Linked DNA regions of Homo sapiens: region 2 is linked to region 1. The links are contacts of gene promoters, found by promoter capture Hi-C in human tissues and cell types (Jung and others, 2019). All regions are on one chromosome and are shown on one strand. Each heading gives the region's core, a stretch centred on a gene start or on the middle of the fragment in contact. The rest is flanking DNA. Distances are from core to core; before and after follow the strand shown.

Region 1 (3,785 bases), core at 892-3,391:
CAAGGCAGCACCATCCTTGGCCCTTGGGGGGCCCTAAACCTCATGACCTGATTGGACTCTCTTGACTGGGCACAGAGATGCTGCCCGAGTCCACAATTGGCAGCCCCTCAGCAGGGTTCAGCCACCCCCATGTCTGGCCCCTCCCACACAATGCCCACCAGCTGTGCTGGCCTCCACAGCCAGATGTGCTGGTTCCCGGAAGCAATGCGTGCCCCTCCCCATCCGGCTGTGCCAGCTGCAGTCCAGGTCACTCCAGCCTAGCTAAGATGCAGGACCAGGGAGGTGGTCAGGCACTCTGGTTGCCAGGGGGTTTCATGCCCTCAAACCCTTGCCCCAAGTCAGGCTGGGGATTGGCCAGGTGCCAGACATCTCTCCAGGCTGCTCACCCAAGTCAGAGCCTTCTACACCTGAGGGGTACCTTGCCTCACTGATGAGAAGCCTCATCTCTCTACCCTGCCTCAGAGCCTCCCTGGAAGGCCCCATGATGAAACCTGGGGAGTCCATCTGCGCCCCCCTCCCATGTCAATTCTTTCTATGCTGGGCAGCAGTGGGGGGGCCCAGACTGAGCAAGGGGGCACAGGCTCATGACCTCTAGGCTCCTCCTTTTGGTGAGGGAGTGTCCATGCCAGCCTCCTCTGTGCACTTACCTCCCCTCTTTCCCTTGGAAATAGACCCAGAGAGGGCGGGGGATCTGCCCAAGGTCACACAGGAGTTGGTACGGGAGCTCTGGGTGTCCTCCCACACCCCCTTGGCCCGGGTCATCCCGAATCCCCAGGCAGGGCGGCTCCAGCGCCCACGTGGCCCAAGGCCCAGGCGGGAATCCGACTCCCTCTTCCCCCCATTACCCAGCCCGAGGGCGGCGCCGTCCGGGCGCAGGGGAGCGCCCCCCTTCGCCGGTGCCTAGCAAGACCTCAGCCTCGCGCGCCGGCGCCCCCACCACAGGAATTTAACCCCCTCCCCACCGAGAGCAGCGCCACAGCGCCGCATTCCCGGCCCGCGGGACCCAGCAGATGGAGCCGGGAGACCGGGGGAGGGGGGAAGATCCCTCCAGCCCCTCCACCCGGGCCCGCGGGCCGTGTGCCTGGGAGGTCAGAGCTGGCAGGTGGGCGGATAAGCGGGGGGACAGGCAGGGCCCTGCGTACCATGGTGCCGTGGCGCTGGGGGCTCACAGGGCCCCGCGGGATCGCGCTGCCCCCGGCGGCCAGGCCAGGGCCGCTCCATGAAGCGCCGCGCTGGGGGCCGCCCCCGCGCAGGGCCCCGCGACCATGGCCCCCGGGGGCGCGGCCAGGCAGGCGGAGGCGCAGGGCCGCGGCGAGTCCAGCGCCAAGCAGCTGCGGCCCCAGAGCCTCGGGCGCGGCGGGCGGGGGGCGCGGGGCGCCGATTGGAGCCCGCGCGTCAGCTGGGGCCGCCGTCTGGACGCTTAAAGGGCCAGGCCGCCTGCGTGCCGGCGGGGGGCGCGGACACGCGTGGTGTGCGCGGTCCCCGTGCAGCCCGCCCTGCCGCAGGCTGCCCTCCACCCCCAGCCCCAGCTCCAGCCCCCAGCCCGTCCCCACTGCTCATATCCGAGCAGATAGACCCCGGCCCCACCCTCCCGTGCTGAGCCTCCTTTCTGCCGGGAAGTTCGTCCGGGAGTCAAACATCGCTGCCCTCCGGTTGCGCCACGGAGGGGGAGCCAGGATAGGAAGCTGCCGTGAAATCAGGAAGCTGAGCGCGCCGGGCCCCGGATCCGAACAGAAAAGGCTTCCACCCGCTCCCCTGAGGGATCCCACGCTGAGGGACTGAACCCCGCACCCCAGCCGCGCTCACCACCCCCACCCTCTCGCCTGGGCTGCTCTGACCTGGGGGTGAGTCTGGGGTCCCCAACTGGTCCAGTCCCCCATCCCTATCCCAGGGCGGCGCAGGGCTCATTTTGCTCTGTGCCTCCAGGACTTGGCTCCAGTGGACCCATACCTACCTGGCGGCCTCATGCTGCATAGGGCCACCCAGGGCAGGAGATTTAAATCCCAGGACTACAACCGCAGCGATCAAATCATCTAAGGTGACTGGCCCAGGGCCAGGAGACAGAGGGACCAGAGGAGTAGGGACCAGAGGCCCAGGCCCCACTGTGCCCCTCTAGCCGTGTGACCTGACCACTGCTGAGTGGCCCCCTTGCTCAGCCTCTGCTGGGGAGATGCAGCCAGGCTTGCGGAATGCTGCTCTGGCATGGACACCCGTGGGGGCAGGGGGCTGGCTCTGTTGGCAGGAGGCTGTAAAGGAAGGCTGCCAGGCTGAGCAGGCAGCAGGGTGGGGACCACGGGGCACTAGACCTGGCAAGGTCTGGATGGTGACTGGGCCACCATTGTAGAGGAGAGGCCTCTGTGGACATCCCCTCCTCCTACCCCAAGCTCACTACTGCCCATCCTGGGTCACTCTCATGTTGCCCCCATCCTGATATTCCACACCCCTCCCCACATATGTGCGCTTGTGTTTACATACAAGTCCATGTCCAGCTGCAGCAGTATCTCCTGGGTATGTTGTCCTACTCACGAGTGGGCAGGAACTCTGGCGCTGGCTCAGGGTGACTTGGTTCTAGGTGCCAGAGGAGAAATGGAGGAGAGACCAGGGTATTAGGCAGGTGCTGTGAAACAGCCTGATGGTCTGTCCTGTAAGATTGCAAGGGCCTCCTCCCCCACCCCCACTCTCTGCCAGAATACGTAGGGCCTCAGGATAAGGCTATCCCAGAGCTAGGGAGAAAATGTCTCAGGGGCCAAACCTGGGGCATCTGGAAGCCCCTGGCAGCTGCTGCAGACATCCTGTACCTGCATGGGTGCACAGACAGCTGGCCCAGCTCCCAGAGGCCCCAGGTTAAGGCCAGGCCAGAGCAGCTTACATGCTTCTGACCAGCTAGCCCGCTGAGGGCTGCCTTCTGCCTCTTCCTCCCCAGCCCACTTCCTCATCTGACTCACAGTGGATCCTAGCACCGGCCCAGGAGTTAGTTAGGGAGGGGCTGTGTGCCCATTGGTTGGATAAGGACTCTGAGGCTCAGAGCGGGACAAATCACTTAGGCATCAGCATCAGGAGCCAGGGGAAGGGGAGGTGGGGAGAAGGGACCCCTCCACGGGCTGGAAGAAGCCTGGCAGAGAGAGCTGCATGGGACATTGCTAGGCCCACTGCCAAGCCAAAGCTTGACAGAGGGTGTGGCCAGCGTGACTGAGGTAGTGATGCTGGCCCTATGGGGCCTTGCTGGGGCCTTAGCTCCAGCAGTCAAGCTGCAGAAAGGGCTGGAGGTTGGGTGAGAAGGGAGGGGACAGGTGGTGGGGAGGCACTCAGTCTCCCTGAAGGCCTCGGCTGTTCCCCTCTTGCTTCTCTGGCCTGCAGCTCATCAGCTGGGGAGTCCCAGGGCAGAGCCTGAGCTCTGTGAGCAGCTGTGGGCACCTGGCAACACTGGACCTGGCAGGAAGGAGTGGTTTGAAGAGCTGTCTGGTGGGCCCACAGGGCTGCTCAGAGCTGAGGCTTGAACTTGAACATTAACTAGAGCAATGAGGGAGTGAAAGGGCTTTCCAGACAGAAAGCCTGCAAAGGCCAGGAGGTGGAGACAATTTAGCATCTGCAGGGAACTAGAGGGGATTTGGTGTAGTGGAGTCAAGATTCCTATCGATCAGGAGTTGTCTGGTTGGTGGGAGTGAACAGGTGGAGCTAGGCAGAGGCAGAATTTCTCTCTTGGTCCTGATGAGGGGCATGCAGTAGGAGCTTCACTTCAGGGAGGTCAAGGCAGGCTTTCTGGAGGGAGGGACTGAGTTATTGGG
Region 2 (3,852 bases), core at 809-3,308, 140 kb after region 1:
CTCAGTTTCCAGGCTGAATATTGGCTGTGGTGAGTATTCCACATCTTTCCAGACAAAACTTGTGCCCCTTCTTGCTCGGGACCACTAAGATGGCTTTGAGCTTCCATGTGGTCCCTGTGGGGGTCACATATTGTGACTGAATGTGCCTCTTCTTCCTCTGGAGATGCTAACAGTACAATGTTCTAATCCTGGAGTGTGGTGTTATGGGGCTAATTCTCCCATGCCAGCTCCAGGGGGTCCTGGAACCTGCCTGCCCTCATTGGTCACAGATCCCCCACCACATAGCACCCTGGGCCTTGTGTCCTGGGTGGGCTGGCCGCCATGGAGATCTTCACTTTTCCTGGAGAAGAGGGATAGGGACCCCCAGAGGCAGAGTTGGCTCCATGTACTTTTCAGAACCCCAATTTAGTATGTCCTCCTTAGCTGCGGCTGGGAGCTCCCCAGACCTGGGGTGGGAATGTGGAAGCCTGTTAGCCCCTTTCTTCTTCCATCTGGCTCCCCAGCCGCTCCTCACCATCATCCAATAAATGTGGAACGAACGTGACTTGGATCTCAGCTTGAGACATGAGGAATCTTGGGCTCCCTGGGGGCATGCAGCCCCTCTCTGCCCATGGGGGCCTCACCTATTGTCTCATTCTCCAGCTGGGCCTCCTCCAGGCACTGCTTGTGCTGCACCTCGATCATCTGCACATAGTCACACTCCTCCTGCAGCCTGGCCGCCTGGCCGCCCTGAGAACAAAGACAGGGAGGGCCCATCAGCCTCGTCCATAGACTCAGGAGCACCAGGCCCAGTCTCTGGACTGCACCTGCCCTCTCCCTGGAAGAGATCCAAGTTCCAGATGGAACCCCAATACCAACCCAAGACTGAAACCTGAACCTGACCCCAACCTGTTGTCCATTGCCCCCAAACCTGGGTCGGCCCCGAGGACCCTGCCACAGCTTCTTGATGGCTCCCCCATTAGTGCTGCAGCTGTAACTGCTTTGTCTCTTTGCGGGTGGCACAACTCCAGATGGCGGCAAGAGGGCCTCCCCTTAGAGGCCTGAGCTGGCCCTCTGGACTCTGCCACTCTCCAGCTTGGTTTGAGAGTCTGTCCCTGTCTTGATCTCCCTGATGAGTGGGGCCAGCTCGTGCTACTACTCTGTTATGTGGAGTTGGATCCTGGCCTCTGGTTCCCAGGGCCAGCCCTGGGAAGAATCCAGGAGTCTAGCTGTATTTTCCAGCTTCTGTCATTCCAGGATTCTGTGCTCAGTCCCCTGGGTCACCAGGCTAGGGAGGGGACTCTGGCCTTCCTTGCCCAGACCTCACCTGCCTCCTTTTTAGTTTCTAAATAATTCAAGCTATACCAGATCTACTGAGGGTGGGGAGGTTTAAGGAAGTAAGAGAGCCCCTCTAGGATCCCACCAGGCCTCCCCTGCTTCTGGAAGGTGAAGAGAAGGGATGGAAAAGTCCAAGCTTCTCCTCTTCCCCTCCCTGTACCCTGGCCAGGGATCAGGGGTGGGCCAGACCAGTGTGACTGGGGTCACTGACCTTGTGGAAGACATGTGAGTGGGGGTGATGGCTGTCTAGGAATAGCCAGAAAAAACAGGTCTTGGGAACTCTTAGATGGGTGTGGGTGGGTGAAGGCCTCCATGGAGGAAGCGTTGGACTGGCAGCACCTTCTGCGTCTTTGGCTTTAGAAAAGTGGTTGCTGGCCCCGGCAACCCCACACCAGTTTCCTCATCTCTGCCTGGGAGAAGAATGTCAGTTTCCACCAGGGCCATAGAAGAGAGTCCAGCAAGACCACTCCAGAATCAGACATTCTCAGTGTCTCCTCCAGCTTGTCCCTCCCACCCTGGGACAGGGTCCTTACCTCCCTGGGCCTCAGTTTCTCTGTAGGCTACGTGGGCCTCAACCACCTCCCCTGCCGACTTAGAGATTCTTGAAGTGGGTCCGTGGGAAGAACATAGGTGGGGGACCTTCCTTTAAGGGGGTCCCTCCTGGCCTGCAGGCACCAAAGTGCTTAGTACTTTGACCATTGTTTTAAGTAAATCAGCTCCATTTACTGGGATGTGCATCCCAGCTGGCAGCCAGCAATCCATTGCTGCGGAGGGAGAGGGGTCCAAGCTGAAGCTGAACAACTCAGTGCCTAAGAAGCTGCACAGCCAAGTCCTTTCCACCCCAAACAGCTCTCTCATTCCTGTTGAGGGCTCTCTGGTGGAGCCTCTGTCTCACAGGTCACCTGCAGGCCAACACTCCCAGAAGCAGCTAGCACCATGGTTGACCTCGTCCAGGTCCAGGGAAGGCCTCCCTCTCCAGGACTCCTTTAGATTTCCCCAGCATCCAGACCTCACCTGCCTAAGTGCTGTTGCCCTGGAAGCCACAGTGAGCACGAGCTCCATCTTGCACCTTTACCAGCCAATGGGGGTAAAGACATTAGCTGGTAAGTCATTTAAAACTTATTGAAAGTAACACAGTTGTGTGATGGAGCATGATACAGTTACTCGTATAACTGTTAAAAGATAGGAGACTTCAAGGAAACTGTCTGTGGTTCCTCTTTGGGGTCATGTGCTTTCTCTCCTTCCCATAAGGGTTACTCAGGCTGAAATGCTCAAGACACTCTGTCTCAAGGGATTTGTGGCTGTTTCATCCTCAAGTATAGGGGGAATAGTGGCCAGGAAGATCTCAGAGGTGGCTTCTGGAAGAGGAATCTGGGTACTGGCTACCCTGCCTTGTGTCCCATCATTGGTCTGTCTTGCCTGTCTTGGAGCACATTTCTCACCAAGGTACCATCCCAACCCCATCTCCCACCAGCAACAGGGTTCTTTCTGCTTTCTGGCCCCTTCCCAGCGTCTCCTGATTCTCCTGTCCATTCTTATCTCTCATAACACTGTAACGTCAAAACAGGATGGATGGTAGCAGATATCTCTTGTTTCTGCCTTCCACCATCCTTTACTCTCTTCTGGTGCCATGTCCTCATCTGTGTCTGGGAAACAACCTCCTTCCCTACCTCTAGTTCATGGAGTTCTGATGAACCCTCTTCCAGGGGATTGACATGTGACCAAGGCTTAAGTCCATCAGAGCATTCCTGGCCACAGTGCCTGACACATGGCCTGAGTCAGGCTACTCAGAGCCAGGAGGCTCACTCCTGGGACTTTGGATTAAGTGATTAAGAAAGTGAATTTGGTTTTTCCCCACTGGACTGGAAACCTTAAAGGAAGCAAGGGCTCAAGCTTCTGCTGTCTTCTTGTTGACAAGTGGAACACACGGATAAAAACTATACAGCTGAAGGCAGAATAGAGAGATGGAGAAAAATCAGGTTCTCTTAATATTGTCTGGGTCTGTGAATGCAGCCATGCCTGAAACCAGCTCTACTGCTAGCAACATGAGCTGATGCCTTTCCTTTATGGCTTGGATCAGTTGAGTTTTCTGTTGGTCGCTGTAAACAAAAGTGTCCAGCCTTGCCCTCTGAGGACAAGATAATGGACGCCCTCACTTTCTGGGCCTTCTTAAGCCAGGACTGTGGCCATATAGTTTGCCAAGAAATATTTGTTTCCCAATCACCATGGGCGCCTAGGATTTCTGGCAGCTTCTGCTTGCGACTCTCTGAGGGTAGAAGAGTGTTGGGTCAACTTCTCCAGCCAACTCTGCCCCCTCAGCAGCACAGACACACAGCCCTTCCTTAGAGGCAGTTTGGAGAGAAAGGAGGGGTGGGTACCGAAGCCTGTGGTGTTTATGAAACAGTGGGTGTGGTCTGGAAGATGAGCTCTCTCTTTGTCACAATTTAGTTTAGTGTTGAGCCCTATCTGGGGAGGGGTAGAGGAAATGGAGACCCAAAGAGGGACCTGAGGTCACCCAGCAAATGCGCATTCCCA

Evidence for each region. Contacts are between HindIII fragments. The study calls those that stand out against the background at their distance.
Region 2: a fragment that was not itself captured here is called in contact with the fragment with the promoter of ZBTB47 in region 1 in 1 of the 25 tissues and cell types used here (pancreas).

Annotation. Positions count from the first base shown.
Region 1 is chr3:42,652,053-42,655,837 of GRCh38, reverse strand. It overlaps ZBTB47 (zinc finger and BTB domain containing 47), which reads right to left and starts at 2,141. Exons shown (of 6, transcript NM_145166.4): 1 at 1,955-2,141. ZBTB47-AS1 (ZBTB47 and NKTR antisense RNA 1) reads left to right here and starts at 1,450. Exons shown (of 3, transcript NR_125400.1): 1 at 1,450-1,844. RefSeq lists silencers at 1,041-1,120, 1,161-1,520 and an enhancer at 1,526-2,167. The HindIII fragment of the contact is 7,927 bases long and covers 1-3,785 here.
Region 2 is chr3:42,510,626-42,514,477 of GRCh38, reverse strand. VIPR1 (vasoactive intestinal peptide receptor 1) reads right to left here. Exons shown (of 13, transcript NM_004624.4): 2 at 624-729. Among named protein-coding and RNA genes, the nearest start is that of VIPR1, 9.9 kb to the right of the region's middle. The HindIII fragment of the contact is 3,997 bases long and covers 60-3,852 here.